Linked DNA regions of Homo sapiens: all the other regions are linked to region 1. The links are contacts of gene promoters, found by promoter capture Hi-C in blood cells and fetal thymus (Javierre and others, 2016). All regions are on one chromosome and are shown on one strand. Each heading gives the region's core, a stretch centred on a gene start or on the middle of the fragment in contact. The rest is flanking DNA. Distances are from core to core; before and after follow the strand shown.

The links. Contacts are between HindIII fragments. The CHiCAGO score rates a contact against its expected background, and 5 or more counts as called.
Region 2: the fragment with the promoter of OSBPL8 here is called in contact with the fragment with the promoter of RAB21 in region 1 in 2 of 17 cell types (activated CD4 T cells and naive CD8 T cells); the score reaches 5.5 in activated CD4 T cells.
Region 3: a contact is called between a fragment that was not itself captured here and the fragment with the promoter of RAB21 in region 1, in 1 of 17 cell types (activated CD4 T cells). The highest score is 8.3, in activated CD4 T cells.
Region 4: a contact is called between the fragment with the promoter of KRR1 here and the fragment with the promoter of RAB21 in region 1, in 1 of 17 cell types (non-activated CD4 T cells). The highest score is 7.1, in non-activated CD4 T cells.
Region 5: the fragment with the promoter of GLIPR1 here is called in contact with the fragment with the promoter of RAB21 in region 1 in 1 of 17 cell types (naive B cells); the score reaches 5.3 in naive B cells.

Annotation. Positions count from the first base shown.
Region 1 is chr12:71,751,784-71,757,226 of GRCh38, forward strand. It overlaps RAB21 (RAB21, member RAS oncogene family), which reads left to right and starts at 3,080. Exons shown (of 7, transcript NM_014999.4): 1 at 3,080-3,505. The coding sequence starts at 3,347. RefSeq lists enhancers at 2,852-3,141, 3,782-3,971 and a silencer at 3,122-3,401. The HindIII fragment of the contact is 5,965 bases long and covers 1,349-5,443 here.
Region 2 is chr12:76,556,506-76,561,948 of GRCh38, forward strand. It overlaps OSBPL8 (oxysterol binding protein like 8), which reads right to left and starts at 3,266. Exons shown (of 24, transcript NM_020841.5): 1 at 2,892-3,266. LOC105369850 (a long non-coding RNA gene) reads left to right here and starts at 3,397. Exons shown (of 4, transcript NR_188081.1): 1 at 3,397-3,728. RefSeq lists an enhancer at 2,187-2,496 and a silencer at 2,907-3,096. The HindIII fragment of the contact is 3,809 bases long and covers 1-3,664 here.
Region 3 is chr12:76,077,547-76,082,989 of GRCh38, forward strand. The region is part of intron 1 of NAP1L1 (nucleosome assembly protein 1 like 1); the gene reads right to left. Among named protein-coding and RNA genes, the nearest start is that of NAP1L1, 4.4 kb to the right of the region's middle. The HindIII fragment of the contact is 4,283 bases long and covers 866-5,148 here.
Region 4 is chr12:75,509,105-75,514,547 of GRCh38, forward strand. It overlaps KRR1 (KRR1 small subunit processome component), which reads right to left and starts at 2,505. Exons shown (of 10, transcript NM_007043.7): 1 at 2,409-2,505. The coding sequence starts at 2,493. RefSeq lists enhancers at 1,718-2,262, 2,263-2,806, 2,313-2,472. The HindIII fragment of the contact is 5,214 bases long and covers 1-4,431 here.
Region 5 is chr12:75,478,689-75,484,131 of GRCh38, forward strand. It overlaps GLIPR1 (GLI pathogenesis related 1), which reads left to right and starts at 2,067. Exons shown (of 6, transcript NM_006851.3): 1 at 2,067-2,366; 2 at 3,146-3,391. The coding sequence starts at 2,193. GLIPR1-AS1 (GLIPR1 antisense RNA 1) reads right to left here. Exons shown (of 2, transcript XR_007063373.1): 2 at 4,766-5,443. RefSeq lists an enhancer at 4,335-4,384. The HindIII fragment of the contact is 5,495 bases long and covers 1-4,691 here.

The DNA.
Region 1 (5,443 bases), core at 1,830-4,329:
ATCTCAAGATCCTTAACTTAAATCAAAAAGACCTGTTTCCCAAATAAGGTAACATCTACAGGCTCCGGAATCTAGGAGCTGATATCTTTAGGGGCCGTTATCAGCCTATTACAATTTACATCTATATTTACCCACTCTGTGCTCAAAAGTATGCCAACCTACTTATTGTAACCCATGAAAACTTGCACTACCTTCTTAAATGTCAACGTAAGCTAAATGTAAAAACTTATTTTAACTTCGAAAATTATTTTGGCTGAGTGTGGTGGCTTATACCTGTAATCCCAGCACTTTGGGAAGCTGAGGCTGGAGGATTGCTTGAGCCCAGGAGTTCAAGACCAGCCTGGGCAACACAGCAAGACACGCAAGATATCGTCTCTACAAAAAAAATTAAAAAATTAACCAGGTGTGGTGGCACACACCTGCAGTCCCAGCTACTCGGGAGGCTGAGGTGGGAGGATTGCTGGAGCCCAGGAGGTTGAGGTTGCAGTGAGCTGTGATTGTGGCACTGTACTCCAGCCTGGGCAGCAGAGTGAGATCCTGTCTCACAAAAAAATTATTTTGTTTTACAATAAAAAAATTTTTAATTGCTTTGATTTAGTGATAAATGCAAAGTAATGCATTTAGTTTCTAAGATGACCAAGCTGTTAAATAATCAAATGCACACAATTTGAAAAGTTGTTGAAAGGATTGGCTGTATCAAAAAGAAGAAAGGAGAAGGCTTAAAGGAAGAACACACAGCCTTCTTCATATGTTTATAGGGAATAGGGATTCGATATATAATGTATAAATATAAACAGAAATAATTAATTGCAGGTGAAGAGAGGCAGATTTCAATCCAATATGAGGAAGTGCTCAGAAAGAACAATGGAAGGTGCTCTCTCAAAATGAAGTTCTTTTCTAGTTCTGGAAGTGTCTATAAATGTGCAAAGACCCTAAGGGGAGGAATGTGGAGGAGAGAGTTGGAAAATATATCTTTAGATACAATCATGAGGATATTTTATAAAACATAGAGTCTCTTTAATGGTTGGTTCTAAACAAATCTAAAATATTATCCTTCTCCAATTCACTTTTCAAATGATAGCCAGAGTGGTCAAATCTGATTATGTCAGTCATCTTACGAAAATCCTTCATTTGCTTAAAGACCCTTTCAGTATTGATCCCCAACTTCCTCATGGTCTCTTCTGGAGTTTTTTTTTCCTCCCTAAATTCTAGTCACATTTACAGTTGCTCAACTTTAGATGCTCCTTCCTATCTAAAGCCATTGAACATGCTGTTATCTCTGTTTGCAGAGCTCTCCTGTCCTTCCTGACTAGGTTACTCTTACCCAAAGATAACTTTCTCCAGGGAAAGCTTCTCTAGCATGCTAAATCAGTTGGGTTCTCATATATGCTTGCAAGATACTCTGAACTGTTTCATCAAGATGAAAGCATTTATTGTACAATTGAGTATGTCTGTCTTCCCTGATAAAATGTAAGCTCTGTGAGGACAGAGACATTTTATCTTGTTGATCACAGTGCCTGGCATATGGTGGGCACATTTAAATATTTGTTGAATGAATTAACCGACTCTCTTTTTTTTTTTTTTTTTTTTTGAGACGGAGTCTTCCTCTGTCGCCAGGCTAGAGTGCAGTGGCGCGATCTCGGCTCACTGCCACCTCTGCCTCCCGGGTTCAAGCGCTTCCCCTGCCTCAGTCTCCCGAGTAGCTGGGATTATAGGCTTGTGCCACCATGCCCAGCTAATTTTTTGTATTTTAGTAGAGATGGGGTTTCACCATGTTGGCCAGGATGGTCTCGATCTCCTGACCTTGTGATCCGCCCGCCTCGGCCTCCCAAAGTGCTGGGATTACAGGCATGAGCCACCACGCCCGGCCTCTTTTTTTTTTTTTAACCTGGTTTGAAGTGTGAAAGAAGTTTGATTTTTAAAAAAATGTTTACCTGACACCAGGTTTCCAGTAAATTTTCAGAAATATTAGTATGATTTCTTGGAGGAGTATGGTTTCTTGGAGGCAGGCCGGGCGTGGTGGCTCACACCTATAATCCCAGCACTTTGGGAGGCCGAGGCAGGTGGATCACTTGAGGTCAGAGTTCAAGACCAGCCTGGCCAACATGGTGAAACCCTGTCTCCACTAAAAATACAAAAAGTAGCGGGGCGCGGTGGTGGGCGCCTATGGTCCCAGCTTCTCGGGAGGCTGAGGCAGGAGAATCACTTGAACCAGGAGGCAGAGACTGCAGTGAGCTGAGATCACGCCACTGCACTCCAGTCTGGGCGACAGAGCGATACTCCATCTCAAAACTAACAATACAAACAAACAAAAAAGAATGGGGATGCAGATGAGAAAAAACAAGCAATCATCGAACAAGCCACCTCAAGGTGGAGTACCATGGAACGTCAGAGGCTTCATGAAAGTCAGAAAAACTGAAGAGCACTTGGGGTTAGGAATTCAAAGGTGGGCAGCTCTTATACAGACCTTGCCCTCAACAAACCTATAGTCTAATGAGAGTCGATAAACACTTAGCAAAGTATTAATAATATCCATGGAGTGTGTAAAGCCCTAGTAAAGGAGGTATACTGGTGGTAAGAAATACCTAATTTTGTGAGGTGGGGGAATGGAAGGATGGGGGAAGGATTGGGTGGTCAGGGACGCGGTTTAAGCTGAGACTTGAAAGATGATGGAGTAGTTGACCAGGCGGTCAGAGGAACTTGGAAGCGCTATGATTCGGGATCCCACAGAGAGAGATTCAAGGGCACCTTGGCAGATATGGTTTACAGTGACCTCTGGTGTGACAGATCATTAGCATTGTGAACATGCAAAAACGATGAAGTTCTGCCCTTCATTTCACCAGAGCTGGGCTCGCCTCAAATTCCTGGTTCCTTATTCCCGCTGGCTCCCACCAACTGAAAAGCAGAGGTGGCTCGCAAGCGGCGGGGCTCTGCCCTAGATTGCCAGTAGGCGCTCGACTCACATCCAGCTCCACCCCGGGAGATGCCCCAGAAGCCCCGCCCACGTCCAGGCACGTTCTTCTGGGGCTAGTCGCAGGGGCCGCCCCGGCACCGGCGCTCACGTGACCCGAGGTGTGACGTAGGAGGAAGGAGACGCCATTAGAGGGAGGCAGAGAGGGATCGTTCTTCGCTTTTCCTCCGGTGCCTGACGTGGTGGGCTGGGGCCCTTCATTCTCGGACTTTCCCTCAGCCCTTCCAGGCCTCGCCCGAGGAGGGCGTGGGGACAGCGCCCGGGTCGGCGGGGCCGGGGCGGTGGGGGCTGAGCCGGCCGTGGCTGTGAAGGCGCTGCCGCGGCTGTCGGGAGGGCGGCGCGACACTCGGGCTCGGGCGGCCGGGAAGCGACGGGATGGCTGCGGCCGGCGGCGGCGGCGGCGGGGCGGCGGCGGCGGGCCGAGCCTACTCGTTCAAGGTGGTGCTGCTGGGGGAAGGCTGCGTGGGGAAGACGTCGCTGGTGCTGCGCTACTGCGAGAACAAGTTTAACGACAAGCACATCACCACTCTGCAGGTGCGGACCTCGGGGAGCGGGAGGGGGCGCCTCAGGGCCCCTACCCCTCCGGGGCTGGGGAAACTTTGCCGCCCTGGTCCCCTGGATGTAGGCTGGCAAATCTCAGGCCTGTCATCTCCGCCTTCGGTTTACCTTTCCGAATTCGCCCTGGGGAATCACCAGGTCGGGGCAGCCTGTAGACGCGAGGACAGGCTGTTGGGAGGGAAGTGGAAGGGCCCTGAAAAGTCCCCAGTGTTCCCCGTGGTGGCTGCGCACGTTGTGGTCTCCGTCCGTGGGCTGTTTTTTCCCATTTACTGCAGTTCCTGGGTCCCAGGTGTCAGTGTTGCAGTCTCCAAATGTTAGCTCCTTTTCTTTCTTTCAGAATTAGGAACTTAGCTGCGTATTTGATTTTGCGAATTAGGTGATTTGTAACTTCAGCGCTTACTGATGACTAAGTGTTTATGCAAGTTCCATTTTGTCCTGAGTAACAGGAATGGCAAAAGAGCCATCTCTGGAGGTTTTTTGAAATGACCGCTTGCCTAGGCGTGTTACGCAGTTTCATTGCAGCCTGCGTGGGTCTGACTTGCGGGTCACTCATATTCTGCGAGGTCGATTGACCCACGCTGAAACATCAAGTGAATACTGGCCAACAATTGGTCCCCAGACTAAAAGCCGCTGCTGTTACTCAGTTTCTTTACCTGTAAAATAAAAGGTCGGCTTTCTTCCACAGGTACATTGGAAAGGTGTTAAAATGTTATCATTGATTGAGAGTGAAGCCAGGCCTTTGAGGGAGTTGTACTCACCCCACCTCTCCCAGAGAAATCAGTTTTGATGTTATTAGGAGAAATTTATCCTACTAATTTGACTTACCAATTTGGTCAAAGGCAGTAAAGTCTAGTGGACTTTTGAGCCTGATTGTCCAGGTTCATGTCTCACCTCCATCCATTTAACTAGCTGTGTCATACTGGGTAAGTTACTTAACCTGTCTGTGCCTGTTTCTTCTGTTAAAATGGCCATAATAGTAGTATCTAGCTCATAGGGTTGTCAGGATAAATATACAGAAAAAGCACTGATGACCTGGTCCAGTGTAAGTTGTCTGCCTTTAATTACCGCCCCAACTTGCACAATAGGTCTTAATTAGTAAATGTGTAGTATGTGAGAACATCGACACTACTTAATAGAATGCGTAATCTCCTAATTGTTGTGACATTGGATGTTTGATGCTATTATTAAACTACTGAGTCTAGAATTTACAAGACGCTCTGGCTCTGATTCCATGTTCTATTTTTACTCCTCTGATTTTACTCGTATGTAAAGCATATCTGAAAAAGTGAGTGCCAGGAAACTGCATTTTTAAAAAATCCTTGTACCAGAACACTGACAAAATTTTAATAATGAATTGTTATTGTTCAGTGTCATTAGTGAGAGCCTGGTGTTTTAGATCAAGAAAATTCACTGGACAAATACCTAGGATCATTTGGAAGTTTAGAGATTTACTTAGGTAAAGTAGTAACAATAGCTAACATTTAGTGAGTTCTTACTGTGCTGATTATTTTGCTTGCTTTCTGTCTGCTTGCTTTAATTCTTATAACACCCTATGAAGTGGATAGTTTAGTGGATAGCCCTACAGCTGAGGAAAAACGTTTAGTTGAGTAATTTTGCTGGCAGTAATATTACCACAAGTCAATGGGGCAGGAGTGTCCAAGCTCAAATTTGAACCCCTGTCTGACTTCAGATTTTGAGCAATTAAATCACATTACCTCGGTATATTGATAAATAACCCATCTAGTGTTTTCCTTTATGCAAAGATCTAAGATAAAAGAAAACTATTGTAATTGAGGTCTCCACGTTTTTTTTCAAAAGATAACTTGAGTCTTGCCCTGTCGCCCAGGCTGAAGTGCAGCAATTTCCACTCACTGCAACCTCCACCTCCTGGGTCAAGTGATTCTCCTGCGTCAA
Region 2 (5,443 bases), core at 2,016-4,515, 4.8 Mb after region 1:
CATGAAATATGCACACAACATGAGTCTAGACATCTCTTCCTGTGTCTCATCACAAGGAAGCTATACTTTGGCCACAACTGCTCCAGTCAAGCACTTCTACTAATCTCCTTGTACCCAGCCACCTTCACTAAAAATTGTATATTTCTCAGAGGCTTTTTGTTTTTTTGGTGTTTTTTGAGACTGAGTCTTGCTCTATCGCCCAGGCTGGAGTGCAATGGCATGATCTTGGCTCGTTGCAATCTCTGTCTCCTGGGTTCATGCGATTCTCCTGCCTCAGCCTCCCAAGTAGCTGGGATTACAGGCACACACTGCCACGCCCAGCTAATTTTTTTGTATTTTTAGTAGAGACGGGGTTTCACCATGTTGGCCAGGCGGGTCTTGAACTTCTGACCTCATGATCTGCCCACCTCAGCCTCCCAAAGTGCTAGCATTACAGGCGTGAGCCACCGGGCCTGGCCTCTCAAAGGCTTTTTTATTCAAGTTGTGTTTCTGTCTTATTTGCAGGTCATTATTTGTAAGATTAAGGCAGGACCTATGTCCTCTTTGAATTGCCTGATGCTCCAAGAACATTGCTATAAATGTTTTTAACTTTCAATATAATACAAACATTACAACATGACATTTCAGGCATTGTTATTAGGATAATATTAGGATAAAAGTTTTCCAAATTAATATTAGAAAACTAGATCTATGTACTGTATCAATTCTTTGTCTTTAATGCCTTAATTCAAGTAATCTACTTTTGAAGGATTATTTACAAACCAAAGCCAAGTTGAAATGTACTAACACTGGTTAAAATTCTGCAATTCATACTTTTAAACAAAAGATCCGCCAGACACAGTGGCTCATGACTGTAATCCCAGCACTTTGGGAGGCTGAGGCGGGCGGATCTTGAGGCCAGGAGTTGGAGACCAGCCTGGCCAACATGGTGAAACCCCATCTCTAATAAAAATACAAAAATTAGCCTGGCATGGTGGCACGCACCTGTAATCCCAGCTACTCAGGAGGCTGAAGCATAAGAATCTCTTGAACCCAGGTGGCAGAAGCTGCAGTGAGCCAAGTTGCACCACTGCACTCCAGCCTGGGATACAGAGTGAGACAGTCTTAAAAAAAAAAAAAAAAAAAATCCTTTTGTAATGCATATTTTACAAATTCATAATTTCATCATTTTTCTTAAAGCAAACTAAAACATAAATTCATTATACACAATTGTAAATTTATCCCCAAAGTGTTTTCTAAGGCTTCCAATTTTTAAATGAACCAAGGAACTGAATATTGACAAATGTATAAGTACCCTGAATGTGTTATAAAAAACATATTTGACTGTCTTTAAAATGCAGTAACATTCTAAGGAAAATACAGTAGCATCTTTCCACAGATCAGAGATTCAATAACTATTATGATTCAATCAAAGAGAAATAAACCATGGCCATTTTTAATTAAACAGGCATTTCTAAGCACCTGTGTACACGGTATTGCTGTTCAAACGGTTGACATGGAATGTGACCGCAATAACTTGATGTCCATAATTAAAGACCCAAAAGGTAGCTTAAGTTTCATCTATTTCCTTTCTCAGCCCTTTGAGCAGGTATATTATAGTCACTCCATACACGGTTAATATTAAAAAAAAATAAAAGTAACAAACATTTGAAATTAGTTGTACTTTTATAGAGAACAGTTTTAAATTGCATGGCCTTACTTTTCCTATTCCAACCTATTTTATAAAACTAGCATGATCTTAATAATTTCACTGCAAAACAGGTTCTAGCAAGCATAGAAACTGATCATAGCCTCTCAGCAAAATCAAGTTTAGATGAAACTCTAGGAAATTAGCAAAATTTAACAATCAATTCACCCACGATTCTCCACAATTCTTGCTCTCTCTAGATACGAAGGGAGGCAAAAACTGTTTTAAAGGATTATTTCAAAAGCAGCACTAATTTTGGGAAAAACTTAACTGCCATGCAGGAGACACTGTATTACTACTCAGACGTCATTTAAGTCTTCTAGCAGCAGAAAGGCAAAAACATCATTAAATTTTTTATTTAATGCATATATACTTACATTATCAGTTAAAGTTTACCCATCTGTTTACGTTGTCCAAGTTACCTATTATTTCAGAAAGCATTTAAATAAAATGAAATTAGGTTACGTTCTGCAACGCAGATGTGTCTCATAAAGAAGAGTGTTAAATGACTTTTGTGAATGGAAAATCTGCATATACTGTTGCTTCGCCTCAGCCAGTCTTGAGTGGGTGGTTCAATGAACCTAAAGCATGCTGCCTGTGAAGCTCCTTGGAACCTGATTCCACTCTTGAGAGAGGGCTTAGAAACAAACATTAAATTTAAAAGCACAGCAAAGGCTTGGCTTTCCTCCTACGTTACAAGAAGGCCGGGAGAACTGAGGCTTAGAGGAACAACACCGTGTCGCTTGGCTCTGCAAAGGCGGGTGCGGTCTGCGGTGCGCGGCACAGCCTTCTCTGGGGCTGTCACAGGAAAGAAGGAGCCTCGCCTTAACCGCACCGAGCGACAAAGCGCCAGCTCTCCTGGGCGCGGGGGCTCCCAACGAGGCCCATGCCATCAACCTATCAAACTTCAGGAGGGACAGACACCCGGGGCGGTCGAAATGCTCCAACAGCCTCCCACCCCCGTTCCCCTGCCGCGGCTTTTGTAAGGCTGCAGATGCACCTACTGTGGGCCCCTAAACACTCCACCCTGCCAGCCTTTCCAATCCCCCTACTCCAAAAGGGAACAAAGGAGCCAAAGAACTCCTCGGCGGGGGTGGCCAGGAGTCCCCGACAGCCCGAGCTCAGAACGTGGCAATAAGGGTGCGCAGTCGCCCTGAGGGGTGCGAACCCAGCACCCCAACCTCAGGAATGGAGCAACACTCACCCGTGCGGAGCTCCCAGGGAGGCGGGACGCAAGGAGCCGGTTCCTCCGAGGTCGCCGCGGCGCCGGGGTCCGAGGCCCCGTAAGCGTCTAGTCAGACCCCAACTTCTCTCGGCCGCTGTCGTCGGCGGCAGCTGGGGCGCGAGCCTGGACGAAGGGCGCTGCCCAGCGGCCGCGGAGGCACTGCCGGCTCAGCCCCCGAGCGGGGCGGGAACTTTCGGCCCCGAGGTCCACCAGCCCGGGCGGACCCCCACCTTCCCTCAGTCGGCTTGCTACCGGCAGCGGCTACTGCGGCGTCCAAAGCTAACACTACAGCCGCCGCCTGGCCAGGAGCGCGTCGCGGCCTAATGTTGTCATCCGCCGCGTCGCCGCCTTTCTGGGCACCCAGAACCGCGAAGATCCTTCACATTCTAGTGCCCTCCCCCTGCCCCGCCCGCCCCCCGGATCACGGGCTTCGGCCACGCCCTCTTCCCGTCACGTGACGGTGCGCGGAGGCGGTGGTGGAGTTGCTTCCCCTGCTAGGCGGGCTCGAACCGGGCGGGAGTCACTGTCCACCTTGCTTCGCCAGGGTGTTATCGCCAGCCAGTCCCCTTCCGCATGCCCAAGGGCAGCCTCAGGAAGCGAGCCCACCACCGTCGGCCCAGCGCCTGTTGATCGGCCAGGCCTTCTGGGCCGGTCATACTGGGCCCTTCCTAACCTGAGGAGATTGCACAGTAGGGCTCCCTGGTCTGGTCAGGGCTCAGTTAGGACCCCTCTCCAGCCTTAGGCTTGGTGAAAGCTTTAGCGAAACAGAAAAAAGAACGCATCGTGGTGTAGAGTGTATGGCCTAAGAAGCATTCGGTAACTAAACTACTTGTTCCTATTTCTAGTGGCACATTAACCGTGGCATTTAATTTACTGCTTTCCTCATTAGAGGTTTTTTTTTTTTTGAGGAAACGGTGTATTTCAATCATGCTGGGATGAAAACAGCCTAGCAAACTTATTTTTGTTCCTTGTTATGTTCAGGATCCTGCTGCCAGTTTTACAGTCATTAAGTTTTACAGTGTGTTAGGTTGGTGACAGTTTAAACGGGTACGCAGGAATTTGACAGTTTGTTCCATTTTTTAAAATAAAGCCTAATTCTTGATTTTTTTTCTAATGCCTTAATTTTTTTTTCCTAATTCCTTAACTCTAGGACTTAACCTTTTGCTTTCTTTTTTAGCCATGATCCGAAGAACCCTCTAGCCGCCTAATGAAATCCTAACTATACAGAAGTAAGGGAGGTAGAATAAAGATCATACTCAAACCCTGATCACAATGAAGGCAAATGAGAAAGCTTTCTGTAATAATTAAATTGGGGTCATAACTCATTTTCCCTTGTAGCCCAGAACTAAGGATTTTTTTCTTAAGCTATTCTCATCTCATTACATTTTCTTAACAAGAAATCAGAAGGCATTCTGATAAGCTGGATACATTGAAATGAATAAGCAATAGAGTTTGGCCTATATAATTATTATTAATATATTTCATAGCAGCTCTAAAAAAATCATAGACTTACATTGTTTTATGTTACCCAAGAAAGAAAACAAAGGCTGCCAATGAAACTATGCCATACCGCTGATATGTAAGGCACCTTTAAGCCACATCTTTTTCCTTTTTTTTTTGAGACAGGGTCTCACTCTGTCTCCCAGACTGGAGTGCAGAGGCGCAATCTCGGCCCACTGCAATTTCCGCCTCCCGGTTCAAGCGATTCTCCTCCCTTAGCCTCCCAAGGAGCTGAGATTACAGGCATGCGCCACCATGCCCAGCTAATTTTTGTATTTTTAGTAGAGAGGAGGTTTCACCATTTTGGCAAGGCTGGTGTTGAACTCGTGACCTCAAATGATTCACCCGCCTCGACCTCCCAAAATGCTGGGATTACAGGCATGAGCCACCGCGCCCGGCCTGAGACACATCTTGAATTCAGAGATGTAAACATGTCAGAAACAACGAGTCTTAGAATCTCTGAGATATTGTCATGAACTGGGAAACAACGAGTCTTAGAATCTCTGAGATATTGTCATGAACTGGGAAACAACGAGTCTTAGAATCTCTGAGATATTGTCATGAACTGGTGTTCCAAAGAGGAAAAGATTCTACCAGGTTCTGTTCTGAAGCCTGAGAGACTGTAGTACAAATAAATGTGAAGGAAGTTTATTATTCTGTGACATTATTTCAGCAAAGCTAGTAACTTTGGAGTTTGTTAACAGATTAACTTGTCTCCTGTTTTCTAGAGGCATGTTTTTCAACCTGCAACTCAAAAATCAATTTCATTTTTATATGAAATAGGCTAGGATGTAATACAATATAAAATACCAGAGTGCATAATGTCTAGTAAGGGCAAAAATTGCTTCCTGAAACTTTTTGTTTCAAATATGGTGGAAGGTGAGAGTATGTCCTATGTTGTGATTTAAACAATTTCTTACTGTGAGTTGCAATCAAATAGATTTGGAAAAGAATGTTCCTAGAGCATAGATAATATGCAAAATACACCATCTGGACCCCGTTTTTCTGGTACTTTTATTTTACTTTGGAAA
Region 3 (5,443 bases), core at 1,757-4,256, 4.3 Mb after region 1:
CTGTATTAATATTTTACTGCAGTTGACATTAAATAAAATCAGTGAGAATCTTATTTGTTATACATTAAATTGCATTCCAAGATCTCTGTGAAAAACTTTCATTCCTGAAAGCGACAAACTAGATTATGCAGATCAATTCTACCAATGAAAAATATGGCCGGACGCAGTGGCTCACGCCTGTAATCCTAGCACTTTGAAAGTCCAAGGCAGGCGAATTGCCTGAGCTTAGGAGTTAGAGACCAGCCTGGGCAAAATGGTGAAACCCAGTCTCTACTAAAATACAAAAAATTAGCCGGGCGTGGTTGCACACACCTGTAGTCCCAGCTACTCAGGAGGCTGAGGCAGGAGAATTGCTTGAACCCAGAGGAGGAGGCTGCAGTGAGCCGAGATCACACCGCTGCACTCCAGCTTGGGTAAGAGCAAGACCCTGTCTCAAAAAAAAAAAAAAAAAAAAAGGAAAAGAATTAAAAGTACAGATGTTTTTTAACAAAAACATTTTGTTAAAAATCTTAAAAGCACTGAAATGCTAACAAGATAGTAAGGAATCACCAGCCCAAAACTGAGGGCAAAACAGGAGCAGAAGGAAGGCACTTTTGCACTGAGGTCAACTGCCAATTATCAGCAACGTGAACTTTGGTTTTAACCAAAGTTAAAATTCTGGGCCTGTCCACGGTGGCTATCTTTATGGTAACCCTCCCAAATTAAGCAGGAACCCCAAAATGCTATATCCTCAAGAATAAATTCATTCTCCTGGACAAACAGCCCAAATTTACCTCATCTGTATTGCCCTCCAAACCCCAAGCTATGTACTTAAAATGATCTGTCCCTGGTATATTCAGACACCTGTATATCAAAATTAAATGAAAGCTTCCTTCTAGACCTTAAAAAATTCATACAAGTAATTTTCACAGCCAACAGGAAAAACAGAAAATATAACAGAAATCAATCCTACACAAAGACTTAAAAATTGTCAGACTATAAACAAATACATACCTACAGACATAGTAAGCCTGGTTGTCTTTGATCTAAGTTTGAAAACACACTGTCTGCAAGGAAGTCATCTATTAAAGGTGATATAACAAAATTTGGAAAACTAGAACTTCTAGAAATAAAACTAATGAATCAAACTAAATGGGCTGGCTTAAGAGTAAGATACACAGCTGAAGAGAGAATTAAGTGAGCTGAAATGAAGCCTAGAAGAAAACTTTGAAAATATGGCAGAGCCACAGAATCTAAAGGACTGAAAATACTGAAATGAAAAGACATGTTAAGATCCAATGAAGCCTAATAAAGACTTCATACAAGTTCTGGGAGCAGGAGGACAGAATATTTGAAGAAGTTAATACGCAATAATTTTCCATTTCCTTAAGTGATGAAAGACACCAATCCACAGATTCAAGTAGCCCTACAAATCAAAACCATAAAATAAAGAATCCATATATATATATACACACACACACACACACATATATTTATCCAGCTCCGGATACATCAGTAAAAAGGCAAGATAGCAAAAACAAATTCATCTCAAAAGCACACACAAAAAAGGTAGATTAACTTCAAAGGCACAAAAAGACTGACAGCTGTCTTCTCTTCAATAAGACACTAAAAGACAACAGAATCCTCAATATGTTGAAAATAACTAAGGCTCTTAAAATACTATCCCCAACCAAAACATCTTTTAAGAATGAAGGTGAGGCCATGTGCGGTAGCTCACGTCTATAGTCTCAGCACTTTGGAAGGCTGGGGCAGGAGGATCGCTTGAGGCCAGGAGTTCAAGGCCAGCCTGGGCAACACAGATCATCTCTACAAAAAATTAACATGCCTGCTGTAGTCCTAGCTACTCGGGAGACTGAGGCAGGAAGATCACTTGAACCCAGGAGTTTGAGGTTACAGTGAGCTATGATCGTGCCACTGCACTTCAACATACCTCCTTAAAAAAAAATCTGTAATGTAAAAGACAGTTTCAGAATAAAACACTAATCAGAGTTGGTATCACGTATTAATGTCAGGAAAAAATAGACTTCAAGGAAAAACATTAAGATAAAAAGGTCACTTTATAATAAAAGGTTCATACATATATGGTGTGTATAAGATCTCAAAAGACATAACTGACCCTAAAAACATGCTTGAAGGCATTTTTTTTTTTTTTTTGGAGACAAGGCTTTGCTCTATTGCCCAGGCTATAGTGCAGTGGCGTGATCACAGCTCACTGCAGCCTTGACCTCACAGGCTCAAGTGATCCTCTCACCTCAGCCTCCTGAGTAGCTGGGACTACAGGTATGCATTCTCCACCACACTCAGCTATATTGTTTTAATTTTTTTTGTAAAGACAGGGTGTCTCACTATGTCGCCTAGACTGGTCTGGAAATTCTGGGCTCCCGCCTTGGCCTCACAAAGTGCTGTGATTGATTACAGGTGTGAGCCACCACACCTGGCCTCCTGAAAGGAAATCTTCCTTCCTAAACTGAACTAAAAACAAAATCTTCCACTGAAGAGGGGAGGCAACTGACTGAACTAATTGGATACATAGAGCTGACATAAGGCTAAGAAACCATTACCCAACTGCAGTCACATAACGTTTCAGTCAACACAGGACTGCATATACAACAGTGATCCCACAAGATTATAATGGAGCTGAAACATTCCTATTGCCTAGTAATGTCACAGCTCAATTCATTATTCATGTTTGTGGTGATGCTGGTATAAACAAACCTACTGCAGAGTCATATAAAAGTATGGCACTTACAATTATTTACAGTACATAATACTTGATAAGGACAATAAATGATTTATTGGTTTATGTATTTACTATACTATGCTTTTTGTGGTTAGAGTACACTCCAACTTATTTTTAAAAAAGTTAAAACTGCCTACAGTATTCAACATAGCAACATGCTATACAGGTTTGTAGCCTAGGAACAACAAACAGGCTATACCATATAACCCAGGTATGTACTAGGCCGTACCATCTAGGTTTGTGTAAATACATTCTATGACATTCACAAAAGGATGAAATGGCTTAATGATGCATTTCCCCCAGAACACATCCCCATCATTAACCATGCATGACTGTGTATGTAAACAAATTCTATGCTGGAAGAAGACTTCATGACCATAACTGCTATACAGCTTTTCCCTAGAGCACAGTGGGATACAAGGTGGAGTGCTTTTGAATTTCATGCTGCTATGGTTTGAGTATTTGTCCCCTCTAAAACTCAAGTTGAAATTTAATCCCCTATGTGGCAGCACTGAGAGATGGGGGTCTTTAAGAAGTGATTGGATCATGAGGGCTCCACCCTCACAAACGAATTAATCCATTCATGGATTAATGTATTTCTTTATAAATTACCCAGTTTCCCACCAGGGGAGCTGGAGAGCCAAGCTACCCAGTTAGCACACTCAGCCCCCTCCCCATGTGATACCCTGTACTGCCTTGGGAACCTTCAGAGTCTCCACAAGTAAGGTTCTCACCACATGGGTCCCCTCGATCTTGGATTTCTCAGCCTCTATAACTGCAAGAAATAAATTCTTTTTTTTTAAATAAATTACTCAGTTTCAGGTATTCTAAGCAACAGAAAATGAACTAATATTCATGCTGATTTATAGCAGAACAGTGTAAGTCAACATTCTTTCAAAACCAGGATAAAAATTATCTCATCATAAGTTATCACTGCTCACGTACGTAACCACGGACGGGTTATCTAACCACTCCACACCTATTTTTTTTCCTTGTTAAAATGTTGATGCTACCTGTCTCTAAGTAAATTAAATGAGCTAATAATACACACAGAATTTAAAACAATGCCTGAATAATCAATCAGTGTTGCCTATTACATTATTTATCCCTGTTATGCTCTTCTGTACCCTCTTTAGAAAATAATTCCAAGACTGAAATTATAACTCTAGACAGGTGTGGTGGCTCACACCCATACACTCAGCACTTTGGGAGGCCAAGGCAAAATCGCTTGAGGTGAGGCATTTAAGACCAGCCAGGGCAACACAGCAAGAGCCTGTCTCCACAAGGAAAAAATATATATAACCCTGTTTCCCAATAAAAATTAAAATGTACAAAACTTCTGAATAAGTAAAAATATATACAAATATGCAGGAAGTAAAAGGCAGAGTTGGTAACCAAAGGTATAGAAGCCATTTTCTATGGCAAGCCCACTAATGTACTCTAATGTTCTGTAGTCATTGTGCTAAACGACTTACATATGGATAGGTGTAAAGTAACAACTCTCTCCTTCTAACCCCTATTCTGCCCAAAAACTTATTTAGATGAAACTAGTTTGAAATGGAACTTAAAATCATCAAATTATAACAGGTTCCTTTGTGTAAACGCTGTATTACTCTTTGACCCCTTTACCCTTTCCTTCCTTTATAGCTCTCATCACAATTTAACATTCTACATCTAAGCAACCAATTTGCCTCTTTTGCTCATGACATAAGATACATGTCCATACAGGTGCTAGATAGTTACCCAAAGACTAAACTGAGAACACAATTACAGGTTTGATTAAACTTGAAGATCTGAATACACTGATCATTAATATTTTGATATTGATGAGTCATTCTCTCTAATCCTTTGTTTCAAATTTACAACCAAGAAGTGAATAAAATATTGTATTTTGACATCTTCAGACCTTTGAAGTCCAACAGATACTGCTTCTTTAGCCCCTTCTACAAAAAGACCCTTAGTTTTGAATATATTTTGAGAATTTAGAATCAACTCAGTTTTACCAGGAGCCAACAGGAGCAAGCTGAATAAAATGAGATGGCATTTTGGATTACATTAGTTATGGTACAGGTATTCGTTTCAAAAATCTCATTAAAGGCCAAGTGCAGTAATTTACCATATTCAGTATTAGCTTTATAATTCTGCAAATCAATGGGCCTAATATAAAAATAGGCACTTTGTAGCAGATAAAATTTAGAAAGATATTCAAATTGGTATAGTGAAAACTTTTAAATTTCTATTTACTAACATAATGTTGACTTGGAGAATCTATGAAAGTCAGGTTTTATGACAGAAGATGTCCAAGTCCACCTACCAGGGTTTAGTTCCATACATTCTCCAAAGGACAGTATTCTTAGAACTAAACTATAGATTTAGGCCATTTATTTAAACTTGGGCAACTTCAAACAAGCTTGAAACACAAGAGTGCCTTGAAAATAACTGTAAAAGTCATTTACTTCCCTTCGATTTTTAAATGGTACCCTATACATAAAAGGTTTTTCCCTTATTCAATCAAAGGTAATGTATATTACTTCCAAAGTATAGGAGTATTAATTTAAGCTGACCAAAAAAAGAGGACCCAGATACTCGTTTCCAAAGATGTTTTGAATCCACCTATTTTCAAAAGGCCAAATTTCATTTTACAGCTCTTGTGAAACCAGGCAAGCAGTGTAAATTTTAAAATGCAGCAGTGGGATATCTTCA
Region 4 (5,443 bases), core at 1,255-3,754, 3.8 Mb after region 1:
TTTCACTACAAGAAAATGCCTCCTAAGGGCCGTAAATTATCTTCTGAATCATTTATTTAAAAAACTCTTGATCTTGAATTTGAAGAACTCCTTAATTTCAATAGCTATACTCTAATTCAGTTATACTCAAAGGTATGATCCATAGACTTGCAGTATCAGCACAAACTGTAAGTCTGTCAGAAATGCAATTATTGGGCCCCACTACAGACCTACTGAATGAGAATCTCTTCGACGAGGGACAAGAATCTGTGTTTTACCATGCTCAACAGGAGACTCTTAAGCACGGTAAAGTTTGAAAAACACGTCATTACCCTATGTTAGCAGCCTCAGACAGGTAAACTTTCTGCTTATACTCACATCCACGTTGCTATTTCTGGTTCAAATCACAGACAATTGGCTAGTCTTCATATAAAGGATTCTCCAATGTCCTTTAAAGAACACGAATTCCACAAAAGTGATTACTTATATACTATACACATTTCTTTTTTTTTTTTTTTTTTTAAAGACAGGGCCTCGCTCTGTCACCCAGGCTGGAGTGCAATGGCTCCATCCCAGCTCACTGCAGCCTGGACCTCCTGGACTCAAGCGATCTATTCTCTTGCCTCAGCCTCACAAGTAGCTGGTACTACAGGCATGTGCCATCATGTCCGGCTAATTTTTTTTTTTTTTTTGTAGCGAAAGGGTTTTGCCATGTTGACCAGACTGGTCTCCTGGGCTCAAGCAATCCCCCCTCCTCAGCTTGCCAAAGTGCTGGGATTACAGGTGTGAGTCACTGCAACTAGTTACTTACAATGTTTACCTGACGAAGTCCCTATCCAATTTAAACACTTCAAAGGCTATGGATAATTTTTTTTAAAATCCCCACTACAACCTCAGGAAAAAAACTGACAAAAGAAATACTCAGGAGTTTCACAATTAAGGAAGCCTCAAAACATGTGAAAAGATATGCAACCTCATAGGTGATCAGAAAATGCAAACTAAAACTGCAACCAAATACCATTTCATAACTACCAAAATGACAGAAATTCAAAATTCAGATAACATGTATTCATACTAATGTAAGGCAATGACAACTTTCGTCCACTCCTAGTGGGAACAAAACTGACACTAGCACTTTGGAAAAAAGTTAGCATTACTTACACACACCCTACACTTCAGTGATTCCAATCCTATGTTCACAACCTAGAGAAACCCTTGAACATGTTAACCAGAAGACATGTACAAAGATGTTTTAGCAGTATTGTTTATAATTGCAAGCAATTGGGAACAATCCAAATGTCCACCGATAGTAAAATGAAAAAATAAATTGGGGTATATTCATACAAGGAAACACCACATAACAGTGAAAAGACTAAAACTACACCCGCAAGTATCACCCTGTTTGAAAAACAAAAAGCTAAATCTAAGAAGACACAGAAAAATGCATACGGTCCACTTTCATGTATATAAAATTAAAAAACAGGCTAAATTAAGCCACTTCATGACTACAAGAAGAGGAACAGAATGCAACACAATTCAGGGTGGTTACGTCTGATACAGGAAAAGAGAATATGATCTGAGAGGTGCACGTAAGGGTTTGAGGGGTATGGTAATGCTCTATTTTACTTAGTCTGAATGCTAGTTTCCCGCATGGTTTTATTAAACTCTATATAAGTTGTATCCCCTGCTATGTACGTTACATAATCATTTAATGAGCAACAACAAAGAAACTTTGAATACTTTCCCAATGCATCTAAATTGAGAGTTCAATGTTTTTAACACTTCCTATAAGCCTGGTTGAACAGATCCCCAGGCTATTTATGACTTCTCTATCATTCACACTGAAGAAAACGGGTAAAACCAGACTACAACGCAGGAGTTAACAATTAAAAGGTAACACAACCTAAACAGTAAGGGCTGTGTCGTCTAATATTTTAGCATCTGACAAACAGGAATTGATAATCTTTCAAAATGTCTTTACTGACAAACTAGAGCTAAGGACATGTCGGATAGCTCCTTTCCCCATACCTCACCCCATTATCAGGGTCCACTCTTGTATATCATGACTACCTATTCCCACCTCACCCTATTCCTCATTCCGTCAGTGACTTTCAGCCACCCGCAGGCTTACAAGGTTCTGCGTCGCCCTAGGCATTTTCTTAATACTCATCCTTTTACAAAAGACGTAATCCGCAACAGCTTCGCTTTGGGGACCCTTTAGCAAAAGCAATGAATTAGGAACACCTGGGTGGCACCATATCGGCCAGCCGTTCCTGTGGGCCCAGCCAAAATCTTATCAGCGATTATTCAGGTACTCAACTACACAGTACAGGCTCCAGGTGGTTTTATAAGTCCACGAGGAACGAAAGAAAAAAACATCGCAACTCAACGTACACAAACCCCAGGCTTCGGTTCCCACATAACATCACCTTGGTTCTCCGGCTTCGGCTTCTGGTTACGAAATTCACTTTTTCCAGCGCCTTTTTCTGGCCGCTCCAGCGAGGGAGACGCCATTTGCAAGCTGCTTCCGGTGGCTCCGGAAATGAAACTGTTCTTAAACCCTACCGGCTAAAACGCCTACACTCAAAATGAGTTCCGCGGAACTCAGACGAGGAGATCTGCGCAGTCTCCGTGCGTACGTGCGTTAAGCCCGCGCTTTTACACAAACCACAGCTTCTCCTACGTGGCCAATGAAGAGCCGGAGACTTTCTCCCAGTATGCCCTGAAACCATGGAGTTTGCGTACTGGGACTTGTAGTTTAGCAGGCGGTATAGGCAAATTGGATACTGTTTTATCCGTAGTTTCCTCGTGGCCTCACGGCCTAACCTGGACCATCGGACAGCGGAGTGCTACCAACCTGTCATTGATGTCATTCATTCTTTCGATAAATATTTATATGTTGGCCAAATATGCGCTAGATGTTGGGAGGAAGTACAAATATGAGAATACAATGTATATTGGGCCTCCACTGCAACAAGTGACAGGAATAGCTACTATTTATTGTGAGACTACTTTGTTTCAGTACTTTATTTACATTATTTCTAATTTTAAAAACAGTGACAAAATTAAACTTTTCAAAGTTGTTTCTGATGGTAATCTTCCCGAGTGTTGGTATTTCTCTAAGTCAGAGGGATGGTAATTCAACATCCTGACGTTTCTGAAGTATTTCAACTAGCCTAAGATTTCTCAAAATCTCTAAACTCCTTTTCTACCCCCAACATTACATAGGGCTAAGATGTGTAGAGAGGTTCATCACTAACTACAAATAACTACACTTTTGGAAGTATAAGAGTTCTTCGACATGCCAAATATAAGATTTTTTTAAATTTTGATTTTATTGCTTGCATTTCTAAAATTTTCTGCAGCAAATAGGGAAAGTCTTTGATAGGTTAAATTCCTTGCATTAGTGAAATACACGTTTGTCTGATAAATCCACTCTCGTGTATCTTATACAATAATTTAGGTTTTCATATATGAGATCCAGGTATGAAACAGATTGTTACATATGGACAGAAGAACCCACGACAGAGGGGTTTTTTGTTTTTATCCTGTGAGTTTTATAAATGACAGGGATTTTATCTCTGTTCTTTTAATTTCCTCAAAAAATGATAAATTCCTAAAATAGAACAGATAGCAGCAGGTGAAAGTTATAAAGTGAGGAGTACACCTCATGAAGCAGGTTTTTATCATTCTTATTTTAAGTAACTCAATCACTAATAAGTGGAAGGCCCGTCTTCAAGTTCAGGCAGTTTGACCTAGCAGCTTCAGGGGGCTACTATTCATTAGGAGCTTCAAATGTGTTAGAGGGCTGATAGGGATTAAGGGGAGGGAATAGTCTAGAAATAATATTTGTGTTAAAGCCCTTTATTTTATAGCAAAATTTTCTACATAGGCTTTTCTTCCCATTTACGTGTATATTTTTAATCTTAGTATTGCTATTATTTGAGGAATATTGAGAATATGATGGAGATGGGAAAACGAAAACCCACCCATCCTTTTCTTGGCACTATTGAGTCTGTTTGTAAAACCCAACCTTTTAATTACCATACTATGCAGAGCCCACAGTTCACCTGTCCCTTTTTGAAATTTTTACATCTTTTTCCAAATCATTACTGAAAGGGGTGTAAAAACATGGATAATAATTGAGTTCTAAGATTCTCTAACGTCCTCAAGACCTCCTATTATAGATGACACCACACTAAAACTGTCTGCTTTCCAAAGGAAAAGATTCATCAGGCTCCTACAATAAGTTATTTCAGTATTAAGTGATTCTTTCCCTTCCCTAACTCAAAAGCCCTCATGTTGTCCACCAACTGAATATACAATATAAAAACAATATATGATTGGAAGTTAAGTGAATTTTTTTAAGTCTGTTACTTGCCTTCCAGAACCCATAATCTAACACAAGTTATATCACAGGAATAGGGAGTTATCTTACATATAGGATATAAAAGCTTTTACTAAAAAATGAATCCTGCAACAAAAATCACAAATTAATTTAAAAATATTAATTATAATGACTATTAATCATATACTGAAGGGTATATATAATTATACAGTACTTTTTCCTCTGTGATAATATGAGATAAAATATAGCAAGATACTAATTTGATGCTAGTAGTTATAAGAAGTAATGTATAAAAATTAAATGAATAGAAAATTGCATGAGACTGAGAGGCTGAAGCTTTTCCTTAGTACACATACATTTTTTTTTCAGTTTTAAAACAGACTCTGATGCTTAAATATTGTTACTCATTAACTGAATTTTCATATTTTGGCTTGACAAGCAGGAATAGCACATATATATATACTTACTAAAAATTAAAATTGACAGTCAAATTGAATGAGAACAACGTTTCAACAATTTGCTTAGACTATGTTTTAAGCAATTTTGAAGAAAAATTTTAAAATAAACGTGGTATGGAATAAACAAATTCCGAAATTAATTCGACTAGTTCTTCTAAGAATTAAACATTGTAACCAATATTACATATGAGTAGTTTAAACTTTTAAAACCTCTTAACAATAGTTTCCACATGTGGGAACTATTTGCTCTAGATTCCTTACTTTGGAAAAGAGCAGATCTAATTTCAACATCTTCCAAAAATTCATTAGAATTGAAAGAACAATTTGATTTTAAATAAATATTGAATAATGACTAAAAATTATAAATATTTATTGAATACATATTGAAAATAAATATTGAAAAATCTCCTAAAATCACCTTAGAAGACTATAAACTCAAAAGTGATTATCAAAATGACAGTGTCCAAATTTTCATCTCAATTTCAATGATTCACTGATTATAAAGTATTCAAAATAATAATTTAAAATTTAAAATGATGAGAAATAGGGTAAAAAAATAAAGGATATAAAAGAGGGCAAAATATTCGCAAAACATTTAATGGGTTGATTACAATAATATTCAAGGCGATAAAAAGATGTAAGCAATTCAATCAAAAAA
Region 5 (5,443 bases), core at 817-3,316, 3.7 Mb after region 1:
TACCACTTCAAACTGGAGAAAGGTCTCTTTGTTTATTGTCACTACATTGATCAAAAAGTTGCCTATGAGACCTGGATAAGACACTGCTTATCTCAGATTCCTATAATGTAAAGACATGCTAGTAGAAATTAGGCAGCCTGGACAAAATTTGAATTTATGTATGAGTATTTTTAAGGTTATTTGTGTGTGTGTGGCAATAGTAATTCTGCCTTATGGTTCTGTAATGGTTTTTGTTTGTTTGGTTGGTTGGTTGGGCTTTTTTGAGATGGAGTTTCACTCTTGTTGCCTAGGCTAGAGTGCAATGACAATCTCAGTTTACTGCAACTCCGCCTCCCAGGTTCAAGCAATTCTCCTGCCTCAGCCTCGCAAGTAGCTGGGATTACAGGCATGTGCCACCATGCCAGGCTAATTTTGGTATTTCTAGTAGAGACAGGGTTTCACCATGTTGGTCAGGCTGGCCTTGCACAACTGACCTCAGATGATCCGCCCTCCTCAGCCTCCCAAAGTGCTGGGATTACAGGCGTGAGCCACCGCGCCTGGCCCGTATGTTTGTTTTTAATGATGGGGCCTCGCTCTGTCACCCAGGCTGGATTGCAGTGACCTGACTATAGCTCTTCACAGCCTCAAATTGTGGGGATCAAGCTATCCTCCCACCTCAACTTTCTGAGTAGGTGGGGCTACAGGTGTGCCTGGAATGTTTCTTTACTTTTTGTTTGCATTAGAAATATTTCCCCACCTCATTCCATTTTCCATCTCTCTTAATTTTCTAAAATACACGTGTTTTCTAAAACCAGGTCTAAACCCCACCTACAGCTAAAATCCTCCAATAACTTCCCATGACTTTGGTGATAAAATAAAAAATCATTAGCAGAATTGAGAAATCCTTCCTGATCTGACTCTTAACTTCTCTCCCCCAAGTGGCATGAAAGCATCATTTGGATTCTGAATTCCATGACACCAGGTATCAAGTTTTCTACCAGTCAGAATCACTACTTATTTACAGACCATATTTACAGAGGGAGACAATATGGAGAGGTTCTTGCTCTATTCTTGCCATAACACCATGTCTTCAATTTCACAACTAGATATATAGTTCCTATCCCTCTAATTCCCTTCTCCTCTCCAGCGCTTTTTCACTTGATCAACACCTAGCTGATTCTAGCCTCAGCAAAGACCTCACCTGCTGTATGTAGGCCGGCTCTGCCGTTTCCAGAATGGGTTAAGTATGCTCTCTTGTGTGTCCATATCTACCTGTGCTTTCCTATATCCAGATCTCCAACAGCCCCTGTTGTAACATCCTTGTCATCACCATCTCACAGCTCTTACCACTGTAAGCTCCTTGGGGCCAGTGACTGTGTTTTTATTTCTGTATTACTAAGGTGAATATACAAGGCAGGAATTTAATATTAGCTAGTTCATTTGATCCTGCCAAACCTCTGTAATTAAGGAAGCAGAAAAGGTCCCATAGTCTCATTCAATAGGTGGCTGAGGTTTAGAGAGTTTTGTATCCTGTCCAAGGTCTTACAGCTAGTTAGAAACAGAAACTAAATTCTCAACTTGAGTCCTGTATTCTTTCTACTATTCTCCCTCTCAATCCCTCTCTCTCTTTCTCTCTCTCTCTCTTTCTCTCCCTCTCTCTCTCTCACACACACACACACACACACACATACACGCTTACATGTTTCTACCATCGTGAATGAATTCTAGGTCAAGTTTATGATGTTAACCAGATATTCCAACCACTATGTGTTGATATGACTCTAAAAAGAAAAAGATTTCTGAAAGCATTTTGCGAGGCATTTATAGAAGTAAGAGATATTTTCATTTTATCACCGCAACCTCCATTAAAAATTGGAGACTATTATTCCTGGAGACTTCAGAATTTTCTTTGGAAATATCTCCCAATTCAAAAGGAAGTCTGACACAGCCTCATAAAAATCTATGTCGTAATAGGTGCTGTGTCACTGAAAACCACTGAAAAGACAGGGTTAAGAACACAAAGTGAGCTGCACACCATATATGGAGAAACCCGTTTCTTAAAACTAGTGATGAACTCATGCTCTGTTCTGTTTTCTCAAAGCTGAAGTCGGCTAGGTTTGCAAAGCTGTGGGCTGAGCACTCAGGCAATCACACTCTCAGAAACTGCGGCGGCTCTGGACTGCAGCCTCCCAAGGCTCCATGCCAGACAAAGCATGCGTGTCACACTTGCTACAATAGCCTGGATGGTTTCTTTTGTCTCCAATTATTCACACACAGCAAATATTTTGCCAGATATCGAAAATGAAGATTTCATCAAAGACTGCGTTCGAATCCATAACAAGTTCCGATCAGAGGTGAAACCAACAGCCAGTGATATGCTATACATGGTAAGGAAAATATCATTAATTGTGGCGTCAGTCAGTCAGAAACAACTAATGTGTATTGACTTTGGTGTTAATACCTTCGTAATACTGAATGATTTTTTTTTCATTGTGATTAATGTATGCAGTAAATTCACAGTCTGTGATCAAAACACATCCAGTTTAGCTCTGTCTACCCAACTGTTGTTATAAGCAAGTGCCACAGCACATTTTACTTCTCTTTGGACACTTCCTGTTTTCTGGTTTTCAGTGGATTTTACTTCTCTTTTTGTTATCTTCCTCCCTGTTAATTTTTGTGATTTGGTTTTCTTTTTTTTTTTTTTTTTTTGTCTCTAAATTTACTTTTTTTGCTGCTGACAAAGTACTGAGTTGCTCAGGTAGGCAGAATGGCATCTGGGGAAAGGATGGGATTTTGATTCAGTAAGGCTTGGGATTGAATTTCAGATCTGTGGCTTTAAGCTGGTTTTTAACCTTTCTGAACTTCTTAGGATATGGGCTGTTGTGGTTATGGAATAATGTTGTGAAACACGGCACACACTATTTTGCCCACAATTAGCCTTCAGTGAAATGTCAGTTTTCCTCACTTAGATTCTAAATTCCATGAAACTAAATTGTCACGTTTCCTACCAGCCCTACTCAGTGCTTGAAGACCATATTTATAGAGGACTCATATGCAGTGGTATCTTCTCTCCTTATCTCACCTCGTTTTCCATTCAAATTCCCACTGTACTCACCCCAGTTACATTTCAGATGAACCCCCTATTGTTTAATGTTTATTTTTGCAGACTTGGGACCCAGCACTAGCCCAAATTGCAAAAGCATGGGCCAGCAATTGCCAGTTTTCACATAATACACGGCTGAAGCCACCCCACAAGCTGCACCCAAACTTCACTTCACTGGGAGAGAACATCTGGACTGGGTCTGTGCCCATTTTTTCTGTGTCTTCCGCCATCACAAACTGGTATGACGAAATCCAGGACTATGACTTCAAGACTCGGATATGCAAAAAAGTCTGTGGCCACTACACTCAGGTAAGGATCTGCCCTATATTATCTTGAAACTGTCTTTTCAAGTATGAGGAGAAAAATTGTACTATGAAGTTAAGAAAATGTATAGTATGCTAGTATACCTGTAAATATAAGGGAGTTAAATAGAACAGCCTCCAAGAACAGAAAATAATGCTTGAAAAGTTTAGTTGTGTGAACTAAACACATAATAGGTAATATGTGAGGCCCACCAACTTGGACAGGCTTTGAACAATTCCTGTAACAGCTATTCTCCCATAGGACTTTATTCCATTTGTGAGAAATCAAAGAACCTTATGAGTGAAAGGATTTTCAGGTTCCAGCTGTAGCATGAGTTTTAAATGAAATTTGAGCCAATTGTTTTGGGACTATAAAATTGGAAGAAACAAGACTCTCAGACAGAAACATCAATAAGAACTGATGCTTCCACAACCTCTCATTCTCTCAAACATCGACTGAAAACCTACTGTGTGCCATGCACTAGGCACCACGCACGGTGCTACACAAGGAGGGAGAAAAAGTCAGTCCCAGGCCAACAGAGAGGCCAACGTGTAAACTTATATGAACCATTCTGAGGGTATTCTGCCCCCAGAATCCATATTATTAGTCCCAATAGCCACATTCAGAGCCACCCATTGAGTTTTTTTTTTTTTTTTTAATTTTTACTCAAGCTGATTCTGGCTCCCTAACCCTACCTCACATTTGCAGCATGATGGAAACAACTCTCTAGGGAGCATCTGTCATAATTGTCTTCAGACGCTGCCTTCCTGTCCTGGCTACATTTTGTTTATTTACTGTCACTTCCTGGCCATCCTTGTCAAACCAATAACGTACGGTACTTAACCTATAATTGACTGTTTTGGGGCACAAAAAATCAGTTGAAATGAGGTATGAAGGCAAAAACGTTTCTATCAAGGCAGTTACATTGAAACATTAGGTGGTTTTAAGGAACAACATGGTGTAAGAAAACCTCCCTTACTCCAGCTCAGCCTTACAAAGCCTGTGATCTCATTCGTGGTGCTACAGATGAACCAAGTTTGGTGCAGTTACAAAAAATTATTATAAGAGTAAAATGAATTTCTCCTAAATTTACTTCATAAACTAACAATTTTGGTTTACATTTACAAATAAATTTAACCAGGAAATAAGTTTCCTTGGATTCCAACAAGACCTAGGGGAGTAGAAAGCTAAATCTAGATAGCCTACAAGTGGTACTTGTACTGTTATGCATTGCGGTATTTAAATACTCAGAAATAATTGTCAGTTTGAGGGTGCCTACTTTCATTTATTTATTAGTCAGTGTTTAAGCTTTTACCCTATAACAGGCACTAGTGATATGTCTTAGTCCAGATTCTTGGAAAACAGAGCCTGAGACAATAGTTTATGAGCTAACATTTTATTGGGATACAATCTTGGAGAAGCGGAAGTGAGGAGAAATAGGGAATGAGCCAGGGAAGGAGGAGAAATACAGCTGGAAATGGTCCCTGGCCCTCAGAAATTGACCTTTTGGGAGAGACTTATGTGTAAATGGATTATGACAGTGTTTGGCTAGTACAATTTAGAGAAGCTGACAAAGTGCCATGTGAGCAAGGAGGACAGAATGAGCAACTTATCCGGCCAAAAGGAAGTGTAAAGCTTCACACTGCTGGAGACATGTGAATTGGTACTTGAAAACTGAGTGGGAATTTTTCAGATGAAAAGGAAAGGGAAGAGAATTCTCAGCAAGGTGTGGAAAGTATACAATGTGTATGAATGGGCCTGGTACTTTAGATCAATGGCAAGAAGCTCAGCATGCCAAATATATAGAGGTCAAAAGACTGTAAAATTGACAACAGACTCCTAAACCATGCTCAATACACAAGTTAAGACACTCCATGTTCACCATTCCAGGAAATCGAAAGAAGAGAACATTTGAGTTTATGCCATAAATGCCTGAGATTTCACAGATGGCCCTCCCAAAATTAACTGAGCTTACTTGTAAAATTTCCCCTTACATCTAAGGGAAAAAAGGAGGACTAATATTTTGGTCATGAGAAAATTCATTTTCTAAAACCCAGT